5 separate regions of the Homo sapiens genome follow, and all the other regions are linked to region 3. The links are contacts of gene promoters, found by promoter capture Hi-C in blood cells and fetal thymus (Javierre and others, 2016). All regions are on one chromosome and are shown on one strand. The core of a region is centred on a gene start or on the middle of the fragment in contact, and the rest is flanking DNA. Distances in the headings are between cores, read along the strand shown.

What was found. Contacts are between HindIII fragments. The CHiCAGO score rates a contact against its expected background, and 5 or more counts as called.
Region 1: a contact is called between a fragment that was not itself captured here and the fragment with the promoter of ARAP3 in region 3, in 1 of 17 cell types (M0 macrophages). The highest score is 5.4, in M0 macrophages.
Region 2: a fragment that was not itself captured here is called in contact with the fragment with the promoter of ARAP3 in region 3 in 12 of 17 cell types (total B cells, endothelial precursors, megakaryocytes and 9 more); the score reaches 8.8 in total B cells.
Region 4: a fragment that was not itself captured here is called in contact with the fragment with the promoter of ARAP3 in region 3 in 1 of 17 cell types (endothelial precursors); the score reaches 5.2 in endothelial precursors.
Region 5: a contact is called between a fragment that was not itself captured here and the fragment with the promoter of ARAP3 in region 3, in 5 of 17 cell types (fetal thymus, endothelial precursors, megakaryocytes and 2 more). The highest score is 6.5, in fetal thymus.

What each region holds. Positions count from the first base shown.
Region 1 is chr5:141,832,907-141,835,606 of GRCh38, forward strand. No RefSeq gene overlaps it. Among named protein-coding and RNA genes, the nearest start is that of PCDH1, 44 kb to the right of the region's middle. The HindIII fragment of the contact is 4,346 bases long and covers 1-2,700 here.
Region 2 is chr5:141,889,962-141,892,661 of GRCh38, forward strand. No RefSeq gene overlaps it. Among named protein-coding and RNA genes, the nearest start is that of PCDH1, 13 kb to the left of the region's middle. The HindIII fragment of the contact is 205 bases long and covers 1,162-1,366 here.
Region 3 is chr5:141,680,814-141,683,513 of GRCh38, forward strand. ARAP3 (ArfGAP with RhoGAP domain, ankyrin repeat and PH domain 3) reads right to left here and starts at 1,417. Exons shown (of 33, transcript NM_022481.6): 1 at 1,360-1,417. RefSeq lists a silencer at 1,417-1,466. The HindIII fragment of the contact is 6,366 bases long and covers 816-2,700 here.
Region 4 is chr5:141,852,570-141,855,425 of GRCh38, forward strand. It overlaps PCDH1 (protocadherin 1), which reads right to left. Exons shown (of 5, transcript NM_032420.5): 5 at 521-1,867. The coding sequence ends at 1,473. Among named protein-coding and RNA genes, the nearest start is that of PCDH1, 24 kb to the right of the region's middle. The HindIII fragment of the contact is 3,137 bases long and covers 1-2,856 here.
Region 5 is chr5:141,906,099-141,908,798 of GRCh38, forward strand. No RefSeq gene overlaps it. Among named protein-coding and RNA genes, the nearest start is that of DELE1, 16 kb to the right of the region's middle. The HindIII fragment of the contact is 3,655 bases long and covers 1-2,700 here.

The DNA.
Region 1 (2,700 bases), core at 189-2,688, 150 kb after region 3:
ATTTATCCTGGACCCCCAAGGTCACAGTGGGAGGGAGGATCAGGGAGGACCTAAAAGCAAAGGACAAAGGGAGCATATAAATTAGTAGCTCAACTGACAAACGTGAAAGAGGTGAAGGGATTCTTTGGTGGGGGAAACTATCAGGAGTTGCCATAATAAGATGGACTTAACCATGCTTCACGAGTGTAAAAGCATCCACTAGTTATTGATCAGAAGAGTTTGGTAGAGTCAGGCAGGTGCTGGCTAGCAGCCAATTAGAGGCTTAAAGCAAAGCCCAACCCAGGTTGCAGGACATGTCTTATCTCCTCAGAACTGCCTGGAGCAGTTTTAGAGTTTCAGGAAATGCTACCAACTTTATCAGATGGGCATGTGCACTGGTGGGGCATGCACAAGGGCCAACCAGCCAAGAGCGGAATGACCAGAAGAAAGCCCATGTGGCTGTGCACAGTGGCTCATGCCTGTAATCCTAGCACTTTGGGAGGCTGAGGCAGGAGGATTGCTTGAGTCCAGGAGTTCAAGACCAGCCTGGGCAACATAGCAAGATTCTGTCTTGCTACAAAAATTTTAAAAATTAGCTGGGTGTGGTGGCGCATGCCTGTGGTCCCAGCTATTTGGGAGCCTGAGGCAGGAAGATCTCTTGAGCCTGTGGGGGTGGGGGCGTTCAAGGCTACAGTGAATCATGGTGATGTCACTGCACTCCAGCCTGAGCAACAGAGCAAGACCCTGTCTCAAAAAAAAAAAAAAAAAAGGAAGAAAAGGAAGGAAGGAAAGAAAGAAAGAAAAAAGAAAGGAAAGAAAGAAAAAAGAAAAGAAAGAAAGAAAAATAAGGAGGAGTGAAGGAGGGAGGAAGGGAGGGAGGGAGAAAGGAAGGAAGGAAGGGAGGGAGGGAGGGAAAACAAAGCCCTACATGCTATAGGTCTGGGTTCAAATCCTGGCTCATCTACTTACTGAGACTTTGGTCTCAGTTTTCTCCTCTGTAAAGTGAAGACAAGCAGCACCTAACTCATAAGGTTGTTGAGTATTAAATAAGAATGCATGAGGCTGGGCGCAGTGGCTCACGCCTGTAATCCCAGCACTTTGGGAGGCCAAGGCGGGTGGATCACCTGAGGTTGGGAGTTTGAGACCAGCCTGACCAACATGGAGAAACCCCATCTCTACTAAAAATACAAAATTAGCCGGGCGTGGTGGCACACGCCTGTAATCCCAGCTACTCGGGAGGCTAAGGCAAGAGAATCACTTGAAGGTGGAGCTTGCAGTGAGCCGAGATTGTGCCATTGCATTCCAGCCTGGGTGACAGAATGAGACTCCATCTCAAAAAAAAAAAAGAATGCATGTAAAGGGCTTGGCACAGTGTCAGGCTTGTGGCTGATAATAAATGGTAGCCGGTAATGTTAGCATTAGTATTCTCATGGGCAACATGTCTAAGGGGTCCCTTGAGTGACCCCTACTACACTCAACATATATACATAAACTTTAATGGTGGGATCCTCCAGGCACACCACCTAATTTGCATGTGATAAATTTTGTCTAAACCAAAAAAGGCTGTAATTCAAAATATATGCTCTTGAGTGGGATTGCTCATGTATAGGAAGAGCTGGACAGCTCCTGTGGGCCTAAGAGGAAGAACTGATTCTTCCCTAGGATGCAAAAGCCAGGTGTGGGGGAACAGCAGAAGTGCTGGGCTGACAAAGGCTCGGAAGAGACCCAAAGATGCTGACAAGAGGGGCAGGTTCTGGTCAGTTCTTTGTCTCCTTGACAATGCTGTGGTTGGGGCCCTGTCCGGGCTGCCTGCCCTGCCCAGCACTCCTTTCCTCCTCCCTGAGAAGGAAATGGAAGAAAACAGGACTTCTGCTGTCTGGAAGTCTGCATGGCTGGGGTTGGCAAGGGCCAATCAGGCCTGTAGGCTGGCAGTCAGGACGCCAGTCAGCTGGGGATGAGGAGCTAGGGATGAGGCTGACGGGGCAACTTCCCAGAGACCCTACAGCTGGCCGCTGCTGCCTTCCTGAGGCTGTGCAGTGGGGTGTGGAAGGAGCCAGGGATCGTCTGACCCCATGTGTCATGCCCGCTGACTCTTCCATGTGGCACAGAAAGAAACCTCAGCTTCCCAGTAGACTTCTATCCCCAGGACATGAGTGGTGCCCACCTGAGCCTGAGACCACAGTTGCTTTTCAGATGTCTCTCAGCAGGGTTCCACATCGTCATGCCCTGGCACAAGCACAGAGGTTAAGGGGAACCTGGCACAGAGGTTAGGCTGTGGAGTCAAGCAGACCTGAGTTCAAGTCTCAGCTTTGCCATTTACTGGTGTGACCTAGGGCCAGCTCTGTGAGCGATCCAGGCCTCAGTTTCCTTACCCAGAAGTTAGGGATGATAAAAGGAAGTTCCTTACAGGACCAAGTGAGAATGATGCATGTGAAGTATTTGGCCCAGGTCTGGCGCATAGTAAGTGCTTGAAAAATGTTAGCCATAGTTCTTCTAATTAATTATTACTATAATTTGTGAGGTCTCCAAATGTACTATGATTGAGCAGTTACATAAATTCCAGCCAGAAGTCCATATGGCCCAGTATGGGAATGACTGTCTCCAAAGTCCAGGGTGATTTGATCCTAGTCTTTCTGTCACACTGAGGATGTGGCGCAGGTCAGGGCTGGAGTCCCTTTAGACCACTGGAGAGCCTCCCTTTCCGTGGAAACCCATGGGGAA
Region 2 (2,700 bases), core at 14-2,513, 210 kb after region 3:
GATCGAGACCATCCTGGCCAACATGGTGAAACCCTGTCTCTACTAAAAATACAAAAATTAGCTGGGTGTGGTGGCATGCGCCTGTAGTCCCAGCTACTCGGGAGGCTGAGGCAGGAGAATCGCTTGAACCAGGGAGGTAGAGGTTGCAGTGAGCCGAGATTGTGCCACTGCACTCCAGCCTTGTGACAGAGCGAGACTTCGTCTCAAAAAAAAAAAAAAACCTGTAAGATCTTTGCCATCTGTCCATATGTTTACATATGTATATGTATTTGTATGTTATGCATAGCTGGTATTTTTCCTACCTCTGGATAGTATTATCACATTTATTTATAAAATTCCTTAAAGGAATTCTACTCAAATTGGTCTGGAAATAAATGAGTGCTTGTATAAAGTATTCCTAAAACTCTCAGAAATGTAGAGTCTAAGCCAGGTGTAGTGGCATGATCCTGCAGTCTCAACTACTTCAGAAGCTGAGGCAGGAGAATCTCTTGGAGAATTCCTTGAGTCCAGTAGTTCAAGACCAGCCTGGGCAACATAGTGGCCTCATCTCTCTCTCTGTCTCTGAAAAAAAAGAAAGAAACAGAAACTAACCCCAAGCTTTTTTGAGTTTAGATGACTTGGGTAAATTTTCTTCCTTCCTTCCTTCCTTCCTTCCTTCCTTCCTTCCTTCCTTCCTTCCTTCCTCTCTCTCTTTCTCTTTCTTTCTTTCTTTCTTTTTTCCTTTCTTTCTTTTTTTTTTTTTTTGACAGAGTTTCACTCTTGCTGCCTAGGCTGGAGTGCAATGGCACTATCTCAGCTCACTGCAACCTCTGCCTCCCGGGTTCAAGCGACTCTCCTGCCTCAGCCTCCCAAGTAGCTGGAATTATAGGTGCCTGCTACCAAGCCCAGCTAATTTTTTGTATTTGTAGTAGAGACATGGTTTCACTATGTTGGCCAGGCTGGTCTTGAACTCTTGACCTCGCGATCTGCCCGCTTCAGCCTCCCAAAGTGCTGGGATTACAGGCGTGAGCCACCACGCCTCGCCAACTTGGGTAAATTTTCAAGAAATAAGATTAGTTTTTAAATTGTTCGTAAAAGAAAATCAGAAACGTCTTCAGAATTGTTAGCATTAAATATAATGCAGGCATACATTTTTTTCCACTTGGGTTTACTAGTCAAACAAGCTTATATTATCTCCACTTATATATTTAACTTTTAGTTTCTTTGCTTCTGTGGTATTTTTGATACTTGCCTAATTTGTCAACAAGAAAAATAACTTAAGATGGTGGCTAGCTTTGTTTAATGTCTCATGAAATTTTCATGAGTAATTTAATTCAAGCATAATTGTTAAGAACAAGTGAATTAAATGAGATATAAGTGGGATAAAAGCTTATAAATAATCTTTTCCAACAACAATTACGTTTTATAAAACATTTCCAGTTAAAAATAATTCCAAAATTTTTTTGGCAACTTCAAGCTTAAAGTTATACTAAATTAAAATGAGTAACAAACATTTATCAAATGGGTCATTTCTATGTAAGATATAATGCTGAAACATTAATCACTGAACATGAGTTTATCTACTTTTGCTTCTTATTTCAGAAGAACGAAATATATTTGGGTCTCAGTAAAAATGTTCTGTGCCACATTGAAAAATTGTATTATGGAGATGCATGTATTTCTAGAAATTATGAAATGGTGTTAATCTACAGAATGTTGGTATGTGACAGTTCACAATTGCTTACTTCTTAGTTTTCACTAGAAATTAAGGATACTAAAATTTAAAATTCAAATTAATATATGGAATTAAAACTATTAGAAATTATAAGTGTAACAACTCTGTATGCAAATAATGCAAGGAAAATAAGATACATTGTTGGTAAGGAAAATTATAAGGCATGAGGATGTGTTTTTCTGTTAGGGGAAAAACGAGTAATTAATTCTGCCATAAAGTAGAATGACTGATCTTCCCAGAATGAGAAAGAGAAAAATGTAGGGAAAGAAATGTTGATGGATATATATATATATTTTTTGTTTGTTTTTGAGATGGAGTCTCACTCCGTCATCCAGGCTGTAGTGCAGTGGCATGATCTCAGCTCACTGCAACCTCCGCCTCCCGGGTACAAGCGATTCTTCTGCCTCAGCCTCCCAAGTAGCTGGGACTACAGGTGTGTGCCACCACACCCGGCTCATTTTGTATTTTTTTAGTAGAGATGGGGTTTCACCATGTTGGCCAGGTTGGTCTCAAACGCCTGACCTTGTGATCTACCCGCCTCAGCCTCCCAAAGTGCTGGGATTACAGGCATGAGCCACCACGGCCGGCTTGATGGATATTTTTAAATGGTTGTAATGGGTTTGAGGAAGGAAATCTTAGGAAAGGAGTCTTATCTGGTATGATCAAAGCTATCTGAGACGGGATAGATTTATTCAGAAGACATTTTTAAAATTAGCCTTAGCATTAATAGTACACTGATGCAAAACTAGAATTTGGTCTCCTCTGTCAAAGACAAAGTTTTGGCTGGGTGCAGTGGCTCACGCCTGTAATCCCAGCACTTTGGGAGGCCGAGGCGGGCGGATTACCTGAGGTCAGGAGTTCGAGATCAGCCTGCAACACAGTGAAACCCCATCTCTACTAAAAACACAAAAATTAGCCGGGTGTGGTGACACATGCCTGTAATCCCAGCTACTCGGGAGGCTGAGGCAGGAGAATCGCTTGAACCT
Region 3 (2,700 bases), core at 167-2,666:
GCTCCTGCCTGACTGCACATCCAACTGAGTAAGCATGGGACAAGATGCTAGAATGCTGTGGGTCAGAGTGGGATAGGGAGATGCAGAGGAGGGGCCAATGATGTGGCCAATCAGCTCTGGAGTAAGGTAGGGAGAGGGGCAGCCTAGATAGGAGGAAGGAGGTGCAGACGCCCCCTCCCTCTTGTTTCCAGAGCCGATGTATGCAGGCCTGCCGTCCTAATCCTGGTTGTTCCCAGTCCCTCCTCCCCTTCCACCTATTGTCTCTGCTCAGACTTCCTTCCTGTCCCTCCAGCCCTGGCCGCCTCCACATCCTGCCTGCTTTGGTCAGGCTGCCGGGAGAGCCCTAACCAGTCCTAATGTGTGGGGTCCCGGCCCTGGGTGGAGGCTAATTGAAGAATAAGGATGGGGATGCCAGAGAGATGAGGCCTGACCTCTGGTCAGGGGTACTCCAGAGGCTTCTGGACTCTCTGCCCACCGGCAGCATGTTCACATGCTGTTCACCTGTGTGTGCACATGCCCTGTAGCGATTTGGCAGTGTGAAATGCCATCCCCCCACCTCTGCTTTCTCCAAGCCTTCCTTTTCTGAGCTTGCCTTTTCCCTGCTCATTCCCTTGGGCTCAGGTCTCTGTGCTCTGTCCCCCTTCCACCAGCCTGACCCCGACCCTGACCCTGGTCTATTTCATAGACCTGTCTCTAATTCTGTGGCCCCTGAGTTTTATCTCTGCCTTGTCACTGTCCCTGCCCCATTCCATCTCAACCTCTCAATTCTTCTTTGTCCCTCTCCTTGTCCCACCCTGTTTTGCTCTCTGTTATTAAGCTTGTCCTTGACTCAGTCTACAATTCTAACCAGATCTTGAGTTGTATCTGTGTCTCTGTCTGCCTCTGAGCCTGGGTTTCTGTCTTCCGCCTCGGCCTAGGCTCTCTCCCTGTTACTCTTGTGCTCTGTCGGTGACCAGGACGCCCTCTCCGTCCCAGCATCACTGCTGGCCTCCCTCTGCCTCTCTCCAGCTGGGCCTCATTCCCAAGCCAGGGCCCGCGTGCTGAGCCTCGGGCCCTGACTCAGGGCCCGGTTTCCCGGTGACTCAGGCCGGGCTCGACAGCACGGGGCTGGGAGCTGAGGTGCTCGCGGGACAGGAGTGGCGGGGGCGGGGCGGGCAGTGGCGGGCAGCGCAGGCTGCGACGAGGGAGGGGGCGAGGAGGGATGGGGCAGAGGCCGGGCAGCAGGAGGGAGGGGCGGGTCGTGGCAGGGATGGGGAGGGCCGCCGGCGCCGAGGGGGCCTGGGAGCCCACGAAGGCCCTCGAGAAGGTGATGGGGAGGAGTCTGGGAAGCAGGGACCCGGGGGGCGCGGGGGTCCTCACCTCACTACGCGGCCGCCGTCCGCTCGCGGGTGCCCGCCGCTCGTCCGAGGTTCTGGGTCCCGCCGCGCCGGCCCCGCCTCCCCTCTGCCCTCCCTCGACGGGCCCAGCCCCGCCCCGCCCGGCCGGTTCCCTCCGCGGGGCCCCGGCCACTCCTTGTGCAAGCGCAGGCCTCCAAAGGGTTTGGGCTTCTTGCCCAACCGCCGCGCTTATCTCCGAGTCTGCCCCCAGTCTGCCCTCTCGCAGGCCGAGAAAGGACCAGAACACGTTGGGACGAAGACAACCTCAGGGAGAGGGACAAAGAGGCAGAGACCGGGACGGAGACTGGGACGGAGGTAGAAACTGAGAAAGGGAGAGTGCCAGGGACGGCTTTGCATCCTCTCCGCTGCTCCCATGCCCTCCAGTCCTGCCAAAAGGGAGGAGGAAAGGTCGAGCCCTAATCCCCCAGGGCACCTCTCCCACGCCCGGAAGGGTGGCTGGACCCTGGCAACCAGTTTAGTGTGGGGACGGAAGCTGGACATCCAGAATTGAGACTTGGCCTGGGCAACAAGCGCAGAGGCCCAGCAGAGGGGTACCCGTCTGTTTCTCCCCACTTCCATCCCCAAGGGCCCGGCCTAGGTTCCTTCGAGGGATGAAGGTCCGCAAGGCACATCCCTACTTCCAAACCAAGGTTTGGGGCTGCCTTTTTGGGACAGGCGGACGCCCTGCAAGCTCAGTGACCAAGCAAGCAGCTGTTTCATTCATGGGAGAAGCCGCCCCTTCTCCCCAACTCCCACCCTAAAATTTCAGGGGGGATGCCGGGGAGGCCTGAAGAGGAATGGCCCTTCTCTCCTTCGCTAATCTTGCCGGAACCCCGGTCCTGGAGCCTGTCTCCCAGGGGCGGAGGCACTTCCCTCTCTGAGCAGGACCAGTGTTTGGGTGTGGGGGGGGGGTGTTTGTGTGTGTGTGTGTGTGTGTGTGTGTGTGTGTGTGTGTGTGTGTGTGTGTGTATGTGTTGGGGGTGGCGGGGGCGCTGGCCGGCTGTGTTTTCCTGTTTGTATGAGAGGAAGTTGGCTGTGAGTCAGCAGACACAGGAACTGTCAGTAGCTAGGGGAAGACCCCTGCCTCAGGGGAAGAAGAGGGGAGTGGGAGGAAGTGGTTCCCACCTCTTCCAGCTGCCTCAGCTAGGGGAGGGACTGTCATCTTCAACCTACTGGAGCCCCACTTTCCCGGCCTTCCCTTTGAGAAAGAGAATTATAGTAATAAAATAATAATTGCAATAGCCATAATAAGGGCTACCAATTATTGAGAGCTGACCGTGCTCCAGGATCTATGTAAACATTGCTTTGCAAACTTTAATCCTCA
Region 4 (2,856 bases), core at 203-2,702, 170 kb after region 3:
GCTGAGGCTTTGAGATGGCCACAGTGGGAGACGGGGGCTCTGCAGGACGCCCCTTACACCCTGGCCCCCTGAGGTGAAGAAGAGAACTTCACCTCATCATGGCTGACTGGGCTTCTCTGCCCCCCAACCTCCCTACCCCCTCCCCCATGGGACCCCTGACCCTGACAAAGGGAAGCCCAACTGGAAGAAGGGGGCCTGGAGCCCAGGGTGCCCTGAGGCAGCCCTCCCACCCCCTGAGATCAAGGCAATGGTGGTTTTACAGGCTGACGGGTCAGTCATGGCAGGGGCTGGGGGTTGAGAGGGCAGGGAGGGGGCAGGATGCAGGCCCCCTATATCGGGAGCAGCACCCAGCCACCCCCTGAGCAAACCTTCCTGCTCCCAACTCACCCAACCAGGCCAGAGGCACAGTCATCCCACCCCTGTCCAGCTGCCCCCCACAGCCTCAGGGCCCCTCTGTGATGCTCATCTGGATGTGGGAGGCCAGCCTGAGCGGGGATCCCCCCAGGGCACAGCGCAACAGTTCCAAAAAAATAGAGATTTGTATTTTTAAGAAAAATTAAATAAAAGCCCAGCTCTGCTGATAGGCAAATGTTACCCCCGTCCCCACCCCCACCCACCCGTTGTTTCCCTGGCCTGCACCCCCATCCCACCATGGCCCCAGGGGTATTTACAACATGGAACAATAGAGGCCTGGGTTGGGGGGCACTGCGGCAGGGAGGAGGGGGCACAGGGCAGGTCCCCCCCCAGAGGGGTCCCCCAAGACAACACGACATCAACAAGAAAAGTTGCAAATCAGGCAGAAATGGGGACGTCATTCCAAGGTCCTTATATACAGACACTGCATGACCAGCAGGGAATGGGGGCCCAGATGGGACTAGGCGTGGGCATGTGGCAGGCAGGTGGGCCAGTCCAGGAGCAGCACGGGAAAACAAGGCCTCCGCTCCACTCCCACCCCCGTCCCTACCCCACCTTTGGTAACAAAAGCCCTTCAGGGAGCCACTGGTGGTCAAGAGTTTCCTCTGGGAGCTCCCAGGGAAAGGGGCTCCCCAGTTCAGCCCTGCTTCAGGGCTAAAATTGGGCATGCTATCCCCGCCCTGGTCGGCCATGAGGGAAACAATGAGTTAGAAGTACGCTGCCCACCCTTGACTCCACCATCTGCCCAAATCGAGGGGGTGCTCCCTGGAAGTCAAGGGAAGGAGCCCAGTCATTGCAGAGGAGCCCTCTTGGGCATCAGATGGGGGAAGCCCCATAAAGGGGAAGGGGCCCCTGGGGGCTGGGAGATGGAAATGAGGGGAGAGGACCTGGACCCTGCATGGGAGAAGGGCCAGCGTGGTCATGAGGTCAGTGATACCCCCACTTGGGGCCCTGGCCAGGAAGTCCACGCTGAAGGGGTGGAGAGTGAGGCCCTGGAATGGGCCATTTGGGAGCTGGCCGGCGGCTGGGGGAGGGGGGCCGGCCGGCCAGTAGGGGGCTCACAGGTAGATCTCGCGCTTGGCCGTCTGGGCAGATGCCGGTGTGGCTGCGGGTGGGAAGTCCGAGGTCTGGGTCAGGGGGATTTCCTCCAAGGTGGCCGAGTCCTTGCAGGAATCATGGCTACTGTGGGAGAAGGCACTGTAGGAGGGCAGGAGGCGCACGGGGGCCGTTTTGGTGTTCCGGTCTTCCGGGGGGCTGGGGCTGCCGGCGCCCGCAGGCTCCTGCCCTCCTCGGTCCTGGTAAGGCACGAAGGTGGAGAGTTTGAGGGCGCTGCTCTTGGTCCGGCGGCTGGGAGATGACTGGCCAGGCATCCAGCATGTGTCAGAGTGGCCAAACTCACTGCACTCCCGGGTACATGTGCCTGTCATGGCGACATCAGGCAAAGGGCGAAGGTCTGTAGGAGGGAGCGGGGAAGGACAATTGTCAGACATACAGCCTCTGCAAAGCTCTGCTTCATGGCCTCCCACTGGCATCTACACCCCACCTCAGGACAGGAGTATGCGCCCCTTCCTGACCGCTGAACTCACAGGCACACACACCCTCAAAGAGACACATGCCCTCCCACCATCGACCTACTGGCCTACTGTACACACGCACACGCACACACACATAATCTATCTTTTTTCTTTTTCTTTTTCTTTGTTTTGAGATGGAGTCTTGCTCTTGTCACCCAGGCTGGAGTGCAATGGCGCAATCTCGGCTTACTGCAACCTCCACCTCCCGGGTTCAAGCAATTCTTTTGCCTCAGCCTCCCGAGTAGCTGGGATTACAGGCGCCCACCACCATATCTGGTTAATTTTTGGATTTTTAGTAGAGATGGGGTTTCACCAGGTTGACCAGGCTGGTCTTGAACTCCTGACCTCAGGTGATCCACCCACCTTGACCTCCCAAAGTGTTGGGATTACAAGCATGAGCCACCGCACCCAGCCTTATCCTTTTTTTTTTCAAGACAGGGTCTCACTCCTGTCACCCAGGCTGGAGTGCAGTGGTGTGATCTTGGCTCACTGCAGCCTCAATTTCCCAGGCTCAGGCAATCCTCCCACCTCAGACTCCCAAATATCTGTGACTATAGGCATGCACTACCATGCCTGGCTAATTTTTTATATTTTTTTGTAGAGATGGGGTTTAAGCCATGTTGCCCAGGCTGGTCTTGAACTCCTGAGTTCAAGCAATCCGCCTGCCTCAGCCTCCCAGAGTGTTGGAATTACAGGCATGAGCCACCAAGCCCTAAATAGACACATTCCTTCCAGCGTCACCTACCCCCCAGTGCTCTTCTTACACACCCACCAAATCTGCCCTCAGACAGGTGCACAAACACACACTCATCTACACACTGCCTCATCTATCTCCAGACAGACTTAAATGTGCAAATCTATCCTCAGG
Region 5 (2,700 bases), core at 119-2,618, 230 kb after region 3:
AAAAGGGGGGTTGTTTAATGGGTATAGTTTCAGTTTTGCAAGATGAAAAAGTTCTGGGTATTGACTGCATAAAAATGTGAATGTACTTAACTGTACATTTAGAAATGGTTAAAGTGGTAAAATTTATGTTGTGTGTATTTTACTCACAATCAAAACTTATTTTTTTTAAAAAAAGCAGATTCCTTGGCTTTACCTTCAGAGCTTTTGACTCAATGCAGAAATGGAAAAGCCAATCCTTAAATTCAAATGGAATTGCAGCGGACCCCAAATAGCCAAAGCAATCTTGAAAAAGAAGAACAAAGCTGGAAGACTTACACTTCCTGATTTCAAAACGTATTACAAAGCTACAGTAATCAAAATAGTGTGATAGTAGCATAAAGGATAGAGAGATATATATCAACGAAATAGAATTGAGAGTCCAAAAATATACTAATACAGCTATGGGGTCAATTGATTTTTGACAAGGGTGCCAAGAGCATTCAATGGGCAAAAAATAGTGTCTTCAACAAATAGTGCTGGGACAACTGGATATCCACATACAAAAAAGGAAGAAGAAGGAGAAGGAGGAGAAGAAGAAGAGGAAGGAAGAGGAGGAGGAGGAAGAGAAAGAAGGAGGAAGAAGAAGGAAGAAGAAGGAGAAAGAAAGAAGAACAAAGAAGAAAGTTGGACCCCTTACCTCGTACCATATACAAATATTAACTCACTAAGGAGCTTCTGGATAGCTGAACACATGAAGATACTTGGAGGGAAGGTGGCATGCCTAGAGATGTATGAAAGCTCTATGCCCCTTCCCACATGGCTTGACCTATCCATCTCTCCATCTGGCTGTTCATCTTTAAAATACCCCTTATGATAAATGGGTAAATGCTACATGTTCACTTGGCATCCTAGGTCAGGCATTTGGTCTCCACCAGAGCCCAGGAACAAGCCCAGGAGCTGTATATTTTATTTTTTCAAAGTGTGAATGAGTTATTTGTGTAAAAAGACATAGCTGCAATACAAAACTCTAGGAGTCTACGTCATGATTCCTCTATCAGGGATTCCCAGATGGTTCACCAGCATTCCTATCTGCAATAGACATTTGGAGCACTGTTGAATCTGCTGGGTCATAAGGCCCAAGCAGGAAAGCAGCTTATATCATACCTGCAATAGCTTCAGAAACTTTTCTTGCTCTGGTCCTGTATTAGCTTTCTATTGCTATGTAACAAATTACCACAAACTTAGTGGCCTAAAACAAAAACAAAAAACAAACAAAAATTTTGAACTCATTATGTATCAAATACCTAAATGTAAGAGCAAAAAGTGTAAAACCTTTAGGAGAAAACATAAGGGTAAATATTCATGACTTTGGATTTGGCAATGGTTTCTTTTTTTTTTTTTTTTTTTTTTGAGAGCGGTCTTGCTTTCATCCCCCAGGCTTGAGTGCAATGGCTCAATCTCGGCTCACTGCAACATCCGCCTCCCGGGTTCAAACGATTCTCCTGCCTCTGCCTCCCAAGTAGCTGGGAGCAAAGTGCCGGCCATCACGCCCGGCTAATTTTTATATTTTTTAGTAGAGACAGGGTTCCACCATGTTGGCCAGGCTGGTCTCGAACTCCTGACCTTAGGTGATCTGCCCGCCTCAGCCTCCCAAAGTGCTGGGATTACAGGCATGAGACACCACGCTCGGCCTGGCAATGGTTTCTTAAACATGATATCAAAACCACATGCAACAAAAAGTAAGTATGGATACACTGGACTTCAGCAAAATTAAAAACTTTCATGCATCAGAGAACATCTTCAAGAAAGTGAAAAGACACTTTTCATTTCATTTGTCAATTTGCAAATCACATATCCAATAAACTTCTAGTATCCAGAATATATAAAGGACTCATAATTTGATAACAAAAAGACAATCCTTTTTTTCTGAGACAAGGTCTCACTCTGTCACCCAGGCTAGAGTACAGTGGAAAGATCACAGTTCATTGCAGCCTCAACCTTCCTGGGGCTCAAGTGATCCTCCCACCTGAGCCTCCTGAGTAGCTGGGACTACAGGTGCCACCATGCCAGGCTAATTTTTTGTATTTTTTCGTAGAGATGGGGTTTTGCCATGTTGCCCCAGCTGGTCTCAAACTCTTGGGCTCAAGTGATCCACACTCTTTGGCCTCCCAAAGTGCTGGGATTGCAGGTGTGAGCACCCTGCCTGGCCTAGATAACTCAATTTTTTAAATGAGCAAAGGACTTGAATAGACATTTCTCTAAAGAAGACATATAAATGGCCAAAAAGTACATGAAAAGATGCTCAACATCATTAGTCATTACGGAAATGCAAATCAAAACTACAATGAGATACCACTTTATACCCACTGTGATGGCTATAATTAAGGAAAAGAACAAGTATTGGCAAGAATGTGGGGACACTGAAACCCTTGGGCCTTCCTGATGGGAACATAAAATGGTACAGCCACTGTGGAAAACAGTTGGTGGTTCCTTAAAATGTTAAACATAGAATTGCCGTATGACCCAGCAGTTTCATTCGTAGGGGTATACCCAAGAGACTTGAAAGTAGGTACTCAAATACTTGTATATAAATATTCACAGTAGCAATATTCACAATAGCCAAAAGATGGAAACAACCCAAATATCCATCAATGGATGAATGGATAAACAAAATGTGGTATACCCACACAATAGAATATTATTTAGCAATAAAAATAAATG